Regions from separate parts of the Homo sapiens genome. Here all the other regions are linked to region 3. The links are contacts of gene promoters, found by promoter capture Hi-C in blood cells and fetal thymus (Javierre and others, 2016). All regions are on one chromosome and are shown on one strand. Each heading gives the region's core, a stretch centred on a gene start or on the middle of the fragment in contact. The rest is flanking DNA. Distances are from core to core; before and after follow the strand shown. Region 1 has its middle 69 kb from the start of SDR9C7. Region 2 has its middle 77 kb from the start of HSD17B6. Region 3 holds the start of RDH16 (retinol dehydrogenase 16).

What was found. Contacts are between HindIII fragments. The CHiCAGO score rates a contact against its expected background, and 5 or more counts as called.
Region 1: a fragment that was not itself captured here is called in contact with the fragment with the promoter of RDH16 in region 3 in 4 of 17 cell types (erythroblasts, M0 macrophages, megakaryocytes and 1 more); the score reaches 8.5 in erythroblasts.
Region 2: a contact is called between a fragment that was not itself captured here and the fragment with the promoter of RDH16 in region 3, in 5 of 17 cell types (M0 macrophages, M2 macrophages, erythroblasts and 2 more). The highest score is 8.2, in M0 macrophages.

The regions. Positions count from the first base shown.
Region 1 is chr12:56,863,774-56,866,904 of GRCh38, reverse strand. No RefSeq gene overlaps it. Among named protein-coding and RNA genes, the nearest start is that of SDR9C7, 69 kb to the left of the region's middle. The HindIII fragment of the contact is 2,184 bases long and covers 264-2,447 here.
Region 2 is chr12:56,839,238-56,842,309 of GRCh38, reverse strand. No RefSeq gene overlaps it. Among named protein-coding and RNA genes, the nearest start is that of HSD17B6, 77 kb to the right of the region's middle. The HindIII fragment of the contact is 725 bases long and covers 1,192-1,916 here.
Region 3 is chr12:56,956,059-56,958,937 of GRCh38, reverse strand. RDH16 (retinol dehydrogenase 16) reads left to right here and starts at 1,330. Exons shown (of 4, transcript NM_003708.5): 1 at 1,330-1,788. The coding sequence starts at 1,476. The HindIII fragment of the contact is 6,494 bases long and covers 1-2,879 here.

The DNA of each region.
Region 1 (3,131 bases), core at 106-2,605, 92 kb after region 3:
TTTCTTTTCTTTGCCTTGTGGGCAATTGGCCTAGGAAACAAAGATTCTGTTTTACCAAGATAATTTCCTGTGCTTCAAGTTATCTTTATTAGGTTTTTTATTACTTAGGAAAACTGAGCTTTAAAAGGGTTAAGGTTTTTACATTCATGTAACTTTTTCTATTGTTTTTGACATCTTTTGATTGTCAGTCTGGTTAAATGAATAACTATCATCTTGCAGCGAACTTTGATTCTATTGAATCAGATACTTTGAACTTTAAAGCTTGTGACATCTTTGGAAGGTTTCCTGGGATCAAAGCCCTAAATTAAATCTTTTAGATATTATTAGGAAGCATTGTCAAATAAAAATTATTTTTAACTTTCTTTAAGTTGCATGTGTAAATGTGTTATTAAAATGTGTTTCAAAATTTCATGTGATAAAATTCTGAGATATAGTGATATGTGTTGTCAATCAGCTATAGTCCAAAATTGCTTTTCATGGAACTGCTGATCAGTGTCAAGCAAGGTAAAATTGATTACATGAAATTAAGTAATTGATAAGGATAATGTTTTATGACTTTTATTTAGAGCATTCTTGGTCTTACATGTTTTGTTTTTCAGATTCAAGGAAATTTACTTCATAATTTTTTATAGTTTGTAATAATTTGGTAAAATATCCTTTCGTTAACAAAAGTGGAAGCATTTGCTTTTTCTCCCTACTTGAGATCTCCAAAATTTAGAAACTATTTTTGAGTATTCTTATTTTATTTACATGCTCTCTATAAGCAGGATACAAGTGGAATTCTCAGTTATAATATCAAGGTTTTGACTGAAATGTCATATTTAAGAATGTACATAAAATGCCTGGCTTCAAGAGTTCCCAGGCTTACCGTAAGTGAGTCAAAATTGCTACTTCCAGGCATGCCCAAGGACACTAAGATTGTAAGTGAAATCTAAAGTTTGCCTTCATTTGGCTTCCTAAACTCAAAAGGTTTTAAATTTAAGATTCCTATAAAATCAGTGTAAAAAGAAAAACTTATGTTTCCAAAGAAAAACTATATAACTGTTACTATATTGTAGATCTGTACATTGTTTTCAGATCCTTGTTATTTACCTGTAGACTGGACTACACCCTGAATTCTCCTAATTTCCTGATGCCTCTGCCAAACTCCAACAAGGAACACTCTTAGACAATTAACAGGTGCTTACCTGACTTTCTACCTTGCCTGGCCCAGGCTGTTCAAATTGGCTATGAGCTCTTAGTCACAGAAGTCCCACCAAGGGACTAGACAGACCCAGAGCAGGTAGCCACATCACTTCAACAATAATATGGGACAAAGACATAACACTGGTAGTCAATGCTGCCTATGGCAGGTTTCAACCAAAGGGAGTGAAATGTCAAAGTATGCCCCTGGCCAACAGACTAAATGAATTCCCCATGGCTAACTGAGGTGCTCAAAGTTACAGGAAGTATGGCTGAGAAGGCCTCAGGAAACTTACAATCATGGCAGAATGCAAAGGACAAGTAGGCACATCTTACATGCAGGAGCAGGAAGAAAAGAGTGAAGGGGGAGGTGCTATACACCTTTAAACCACCAGATCTCATGGGAACTCACTCACTATCATGAGAACAGCAAGGGGGAAATCTGCCCCCATGATCCAATCACCTCTCATTAGGCCCCCTCCTCCAACATTATGAATTACAATTCTATGTAAGATTGGGCAGGAACACAGATTCAAATTGTATCATTCTGCACTTGGCCCCTCCCAAATCTCAGGCTCTTCTCACATTACAAAATACAATCATCACTTCTCAAGAGTCCCCCAAAATCTTAACATATTTCAGCATTAACTCAAGAGTCCACAGTCCAAAGCCTCATCTGAGGCAAGGCAAGTCCCTTCCACCTGTGAGCCTGTAAAATCAAAGACAAGTTAGTTACTTCCAAGATACAATGGGGCTACAGACATTGAATAAATACACCCATTCCAAAAGAGATAAATCACCAAAACAAAGGGGCTACAGGTCCCATGCAAGTCCAAAATCCAGTAGGGCAGTCATTAAATCTTGAAGCCCCAAAATAATCTCCTTTGGCTCCATGTCTCACATGTAGGCTACACTGATGCAAGGGGTGGGCTCCCAAAGCCTTGGGCAGCACTGCTCCTCTGGCTTGCAGGGCTCAGCTCCCATGGCTGCTCTCAAGGGCTGGCATTGAGTGCCTGCAGCTTTTTCAGGTACATGGTACAAGCTGCCAATGGATCTACGATTCTGGTGTCTGGAGGATAGTGGCCCTCTTCTCACAGCTCCACTATGCAGTACCCCAGTGGGAACTCTATGTGGGGGCTCCAACCTCATATTTCCCCTCCACACTGTCCTAGTAGAGGTTCTCCATGAGGGCTCCATCCCTGCATCAGAATTCTGCCTGGACATCCAGGTGTTTCCATAAATTCTCTGAAATCTAGGTGGAAGCTTCCAAGACTCAACTTTTTCCCTCTGCGCACCCACAGGCTTAGCACCACAAAGAAACTGCCAAGTCTTAAAGGCTTGCACCCTCTGAAGCAGTGGCCTGAGATATATCTGGAGCCCTTTTAACCATAGCTGGAGCTGGAGCAGCTGGGGTGCAGGGAGCACTGTTCCAAGGTTGTGCAGGGCAGCAGGGCCCTTGGCCTGGCCCAAGAAACAATTTTTCCATTCTAGGCCTCTGGACCTGTGATGGGAGGGGCTGCTCTGAAGGTCTCTGTCATGGTTTCAAGGCATTTTCCCAATTGTCTTGGTTACTAACATTTGGCTCCTCTTAAGCCAATTTCTGTAGCTGACTTGAATTCCTTCCCTGAAAATGGGGTTTTCTTTTCTACCACATGGCCAGGCTGCAAATTTTCCAAACTTTTATGCTCTGCTTCCCTTTTAAATATAAGTTCCAGTTCCAGTTTTATGTCATTTCTTTGCTCATGAATATAAGCATAGGCTGCTAGAAGCAGCCAGGCCACATCTTGAATGCTTTGTTGCATAGAAATTTCTTCCACCAGATGGCCTCAATCATCACTCCCAAGCTCAAAGTTTCACAGATCTCTAGAGCAGAGACACAATGCCTCTAACCTCTTTGCTAAAGTATAATAAAAGTCACCTTTGCTCCAATTTCCATTAAGTTCTTCATC
Region 2 (3,072 bases), core at 305-2,804, 120 kb after region 3:
TGAGATACCATTTCACACCAGTCTGAATGGCTGGTATTAAAAAGTCGAAAAATAACAGATGCTGGGAAGGTTGTAGAGAAAAACACCTATACACTGTTGGGAGTGTAAATTAGTTCAACCGTTACAGAAAACAGTGTGGCAATTCCTTAAAGACCTAAAGACAGAACTACCATTCAACCCAGAAATCCCATTACTGGGTATATACCCAAAGGAATGTAAGTTACTCTATCATAAAGACACATACATGCATATGTTCATTCCAGCACTATTCACAATAGCAAAGAGATGGAATCAACCTAAATGCCCATCAATGATAGACTGGATAAAGAATGTGGTACATAAACACAATGGAATACTATGTAGCCATTCAAAAGAATGAAATCACGTCCTTTGCAGGGACATGGATGGAATTGGAGGTCATTATCCTTAGCAGACTAATGCAGGAACAGAAAACCAAATACTACATGTTCTCATTTATAAGTGGAAGCTAAATGATGAGAACACATGGATATATAGAGGGGAACAATGAACACTGGGGTCTATCAGAGGGTTGAGGGTGGGGATAGGGAGAGGATCAAGAAAAATAACTAATGGGTACTAGCCTTAATACCTGGGTGATGAAATAATCTACACAACAAACCCCATGATACACGTTTACCTATGTAACAATCCTTCACGTGTACCCCGATCTTAAAATAAATGTTAAAAAAAGAAACCTTTCTTCTTTTCTAATATAGGCATTTAGTGTTATAAATTTCTCTCTAAGCACAGCTTAGCCCCACTCCACAAACTTTAATGTACCACATTTTCATTTTCACTCAGTTGAAATATATTCTAATTTTTCTTTGTATTTCTTTTTTAATCCATGCATGTATCATTTAGCCAAATATTTTGTAATTTTCCAACTACTGGGAGATTTTTTGGATACTTTTCTGTTATTTATTCCTAATTTAATTCCATTGTGGTCAGAGAACATACTTTTTAAGGTTTAGAAGATTTTCTTTCTTTCCCAAGGTGAAGGAGAGACCCCTGCCATGGGACTCTCCCTGATAGCCCTCGTGGGCCTGTACTACCTTCTGCGCTGGTAGTGGGAGAGACAGGTGGTGAGCCTCCCTTGAGATAACTGCTTCATCATGGGCTGTGACTCGGGCTTCGGGAATCTGCTGGCAAGACAGCTGGATACGCAAAGCTTGAGGGTGCTGGCTATGTGTCTGATGGAGAAGGAGGCAGAGCAGCTGAGGGGCCAGACTTCAGACAGGCTGGAGACGGTGACCCTGGACATCACCAAGACAGAGAATATCGCTGCAGCCACCCAGGGAGTGAAGGATGCATGGGGGACAGAGTACAGTGCAGGGGATGGATGGCGGGGGCAGTGGGGGAGTCTGTCCTTCAGACAAATTGCTTTGTCCTCAATGTCTCTGGTTAGCCAGATAATGTTCCAGGTACAAAATATTAGGGGTTAGCTTAGGCATATACTGGGGATGTGTTTTCATTGCTGACAGATACATTATGAATGATGACTGTTCTTAGGACTGACAAATACAAGCATTTTTATGAGAACAGTGAATGAATGCTTGGAATCAAGATTGCTCTGAAATATTCAGGTTGTGTGGTACGTGTATATATCTGGGTAGAAGGAGGGAATGAATGAAAGATAGGGAGGTATAGATAATAAAGGTATAGAAACTGGTATAGAAAGCAAACTGCAAGAACAGTGGCCCTCAAAAATCCAGGGCATGAAAATGCTAACTTAGTAAATAAGAGGTGCTTATTCTTTTTCACTCTTATTTGGAGAAACTTACTTCACAAAAGGATTCTTAGCTGCATCCTTTAAAGCAGGAGGTAATTACACTGTCTACATTTTATTTTGCCTTACTGAGGGTGGATCACTTGTGTAAATCAGTGTTTTCCAAGCTTACTTAATCATAAGATGAGAAAGACCTGATTAATCGAGGGGGATTCTTAATAAGTTTTATTATTCAAAAAGTACCCCTAGCTGAGTCTTAGTATGAGGCAATCAAATCACATCTATATTCTGATCACTAAGGCATGGTCTGTGTTTTTCTAGGTGTTGTTTTCCTACCATCAGTTGTAAGCTAGAGTTTTTGAAGCAGCCCAGGGAATTGGCAGAAACTTTGTGAGCCTAACCAAAGACTGTAAGACAAGAGCCAAATTTCAATGATTGCTGGAGAAACTCCAAAGCAGGCCATTTGGGGCCCTCTGGTGGCTGGGGGGTACACCGAGCAGGACAGCAGGACCAGCTGCAGCTGAGTTCCAACATGCCATTTTACACATTCCCTTGACTTATCATGGCAGATCTTGACTCTCATCCTTGCATCAATGTGGCACAGGCCTCAGGGCCAGCTGGCATCCTACACAAGTCCTCTGAGGGGTGAGGGACAGAAAACCCCACAGGGAGAGGCTGAAGCCAAAAGGTCTCCTAATCAGCCTGAGGCACCAGGAATAAACTTAAGGTCCAACAAAGTCAGGTCTTTTGTCCTATTGCCATGAGGAAGACTGCATACCAGGGGACTCATGGGTTGTCTGATCAAAGGAAAAGAGAATTATTATAGGATATGGAGATGAAGCAATTTCTTGATAGACTCCAAGCAAAGCAGGGCTCTGTGAAAAGAGATCAACTCCAGGTCTGGATTACAAAATGGTCCCAAGGTCTTGTTTCATTAGAAAGCACAGTTTAGATGTGAAATGTTTCCAGCAACCCCTATCTAAAGTTCTGCACCTGGGTTATATAATGAGGCTGCTTCTGTGTCAAAGTGACTCAGGCAAGGGTGGGATATTCATTTTTATGATATAATTTTTTTAGACATGAGGTTTTGCTTTATTCCCCAAACTGGTCTCAAACTTCTTGCCTCAAGCCATCCTCCCACCTTGGCCTCCCAAAGTGCTGGGATTATAGATGTGAGTCACCATACCTGGCCTCTTACAATAGAATTTTAAACACTGAAGTGTTTGATAGTCTTTGCTTTTACAGAACAAGATTTCTCAGTGAGTAAAAAGTCTATAGTCACTCAAAGAAAGAGGTCGTTAAGACACTTTACAGTTGCAGCATGT
Region 3 (2,879 bases), core at 81-2,580:
ACAGGGTTCAGGGACCCATTTGAGAAGGCAGTCTGTCTGTTCTAAGAGCTCAAACACCATGCTGGGAGAACCACTGCTCTCTTCAGTGCTGTCAGACAGGGATGTTTAAGTCTGCAGAGGTTTCTGCTGCCTTTTGTTCAGTTATGCACTGCTCCCAGAGGTGGAGTCTATAGAGGCAGAAAGCCTTGCCTTGCTGCAGTGGGCTTCGCCCAGTTTGAGCTGCCCAGCTGCTTTGCTTTCCTACTCAAGCCTCAGCAATGGTGAGCAACCCTCCTCCTGCCAGGCTGCTGCCTTGCAGGTTGATCTCAGACTACTGCACTAGCAGTGAGCAAAGCTCTGTGGGAATGGGACCCACCAAACCAGGCACAGGATATAATCTCCTGGTGTGCCATTTGCTAAGACCATTGGAAAAGTGCAGTATTTGAGCAGGAGTGTCTTGTTTTTCCAGGTACAGTCTGTCACGGCTTCCCTTGTCTAGGAAAGGGAAATCCCCTGACCTCTTACACTTCCTGGGTAAGGCAATGCCCTGCCTTGCTTCGGCTCACCCTCTGTGGGCTGCACGCACTGTCCAACCAGTCCCAGTGAGATGAACCAGGTACCTCAGCTGGAAATGCAGAAATCACCCATTTTCTGCATCAGTCACACTGGGAGCTGCAGACCGGAGCTGTTCCTATTTGCCCATCCTCTCCCTGCTTTCTTTACCTCTGAGGTTGGATTCTCCCTGTGGGATCCTGCAATCCTTCTGCCCCAAAAAACTATTATAGCAGGAGGGAACCTGTTCCTGCTCACTCTTTGCCTTCTCCTTCTCATCCTAGACAGCCTGACCGTGCCCTAGTTTTCAGAGGAGTGATTGATTCTGGGGTGCGGAGCAGGATGAGGAAACTCAGGCTCAGAGAGGGATTTCCACCTAATGTGCCTGGAAACCATGGGTAGCTACCCAATAAGGCCTTTCTATGTTCAGAAGGTCATGGACCAGGAGTGTTGGTATCGGAGCTTTGTAGAGACAGTTTTGACCCCTGTACTTAGAGCAGAGGGGTGTGTTTGCCATGGAGAGTGTGTGTGGGCAGCTGTGTGTAAGCCTGTGTGAGTTCTGTGTATGTTCCTGTGTGAATATATGTGTGTGCTCCTTCATGGACACAGCATGCATGTAGTGGGCATAGCAAGGCAGAGAGAAATCAGGAGACTAGGGGCACATTGCCCAGTAGGAAGATAGTATCTTCCTACTGGGCAGGACTTGAGGTGTGCAAAGGTGTGCATGAGTACTGCAAAAGCAGTTCAAAGAGCAGAGAGGTGGGGCCAGAATAAATATGTTGCAGAAAGGCAGTCATCAGGGAGGAAAGTGAGGATTCCCTGCCAAAATGCCTGAGGGCTTCCCTGCCTACCACAGCCCTCTGTGTTCTTAAATCCTCCTGTCTGAACAGAGGCCAGACTCTGGTTTCCCCCACAGCCTGTCTGTGTCTGTCCTCTGCAAAGCCATGTGGCTCTACCTGGCGGTTTTCGTGGGCCTGTACTACCTTCTGCACTGGTACCGGGAGAGGCAGGTGCTGAGCCACCTGAGAGATAAGTATGTGTTCATCACGGGCTGTGACTCTGGCTTCGGGAAACTGCTGGCCAGACAGCTGGATGCACGAGGCTTGCGGGTGCTGGCTGCATGTCTGACGGAGAAAGGAGCCGAGCAGCTGAGGGGCCAGACTTCAGACAGGCTGGAGACGGTGACCCTGGATGTTACCAAGACAGAGAGCGTTGCTGCAGCCGCCCAGTGGGTGAAGGAGTGCGTGAGAGACAAAGGTAACCACCCAGGTTTGTCAAGTCTGTCTGTGTCTTCCCTCTGTGTGAAGGGACCACCTCCTGTCTGCTCCCTGGGAAGATTCCTACAGTGTCTTTCCAGGTTGAAGTAACAGTAGCTTTCTAATATTTCTCACTTAACAGGCTGCCTGAACCCCATCTCTTTTCAATCCTTAACCTCTCCCGACATTGGAGGTGTCTAGTCTTGGGGAGAGTTTGCCCTGATGAGATTTTCTCTCCAGAATTCCTCTCTATCCTCTCCCTCCTGTCTAAGCAGAAGTCATGTGTTGTTTGATGCTAAGAGCCTGGGTTAGAGATCTGGAGACTTGCTGGAGCATCGTTGAGAAGGGAGCACAGGGCTGCAAGTGTGCACGGAGGCTGTGCCTGTGCTGGAGCCAGGCTTATGTTCCCAGCACTTTACCTTGTTTTTGCTAGGGCCCATCAGCGTCCACTGAGAGCTACGATCATCTCCATCTTCAGAGGAGAGTATCAGCTTAAGGACTGCTTAAGGAAGGCAGAACTAGTAAGGGGTTACTTTTTCTTTCTTTCTTCTTTTCACTACACTAATTCATCTGTCTTATTATAGAGGAAGAAAGAAACATGGATTTATTTTATGTAACAATAAATCAGAATATGATCTTTGTGGAAAACACTGAAAAGAATAAAGATGAAAACAAGTTTCCCTGAAATTGTCATCCACACATAAGTCCTTTTTACAATTATACAAAATTAGGATTTTATATTTTGTTCTTAGTTTCAGTCACCTTAAATTCTCTGGAGAAGATGAACACTTTTCCACCATAATGACTGTTTTTATAAAATTATATTTAATTATTTAGAATACTGTATCCTTCCAATAGCCTTACCTATGTAATCCATACTGAGTGGTTGGATATGAAATTCCTTCCTGCTTTTTATTCATCATAAATGTCATCTTGGTGGACTTTTATTTGCCAACGTCTCTGTAAGTGTGAGTATTGATTGGATTCTTAAAAATGAGATGTCTGGGTGGAGGAATCTGCATTTGCATCAGGGCAGGGCCTGTTATTGAGCAGGGGACAGGTTCATATGCCTGGGCCAACCCTTCCAGATCA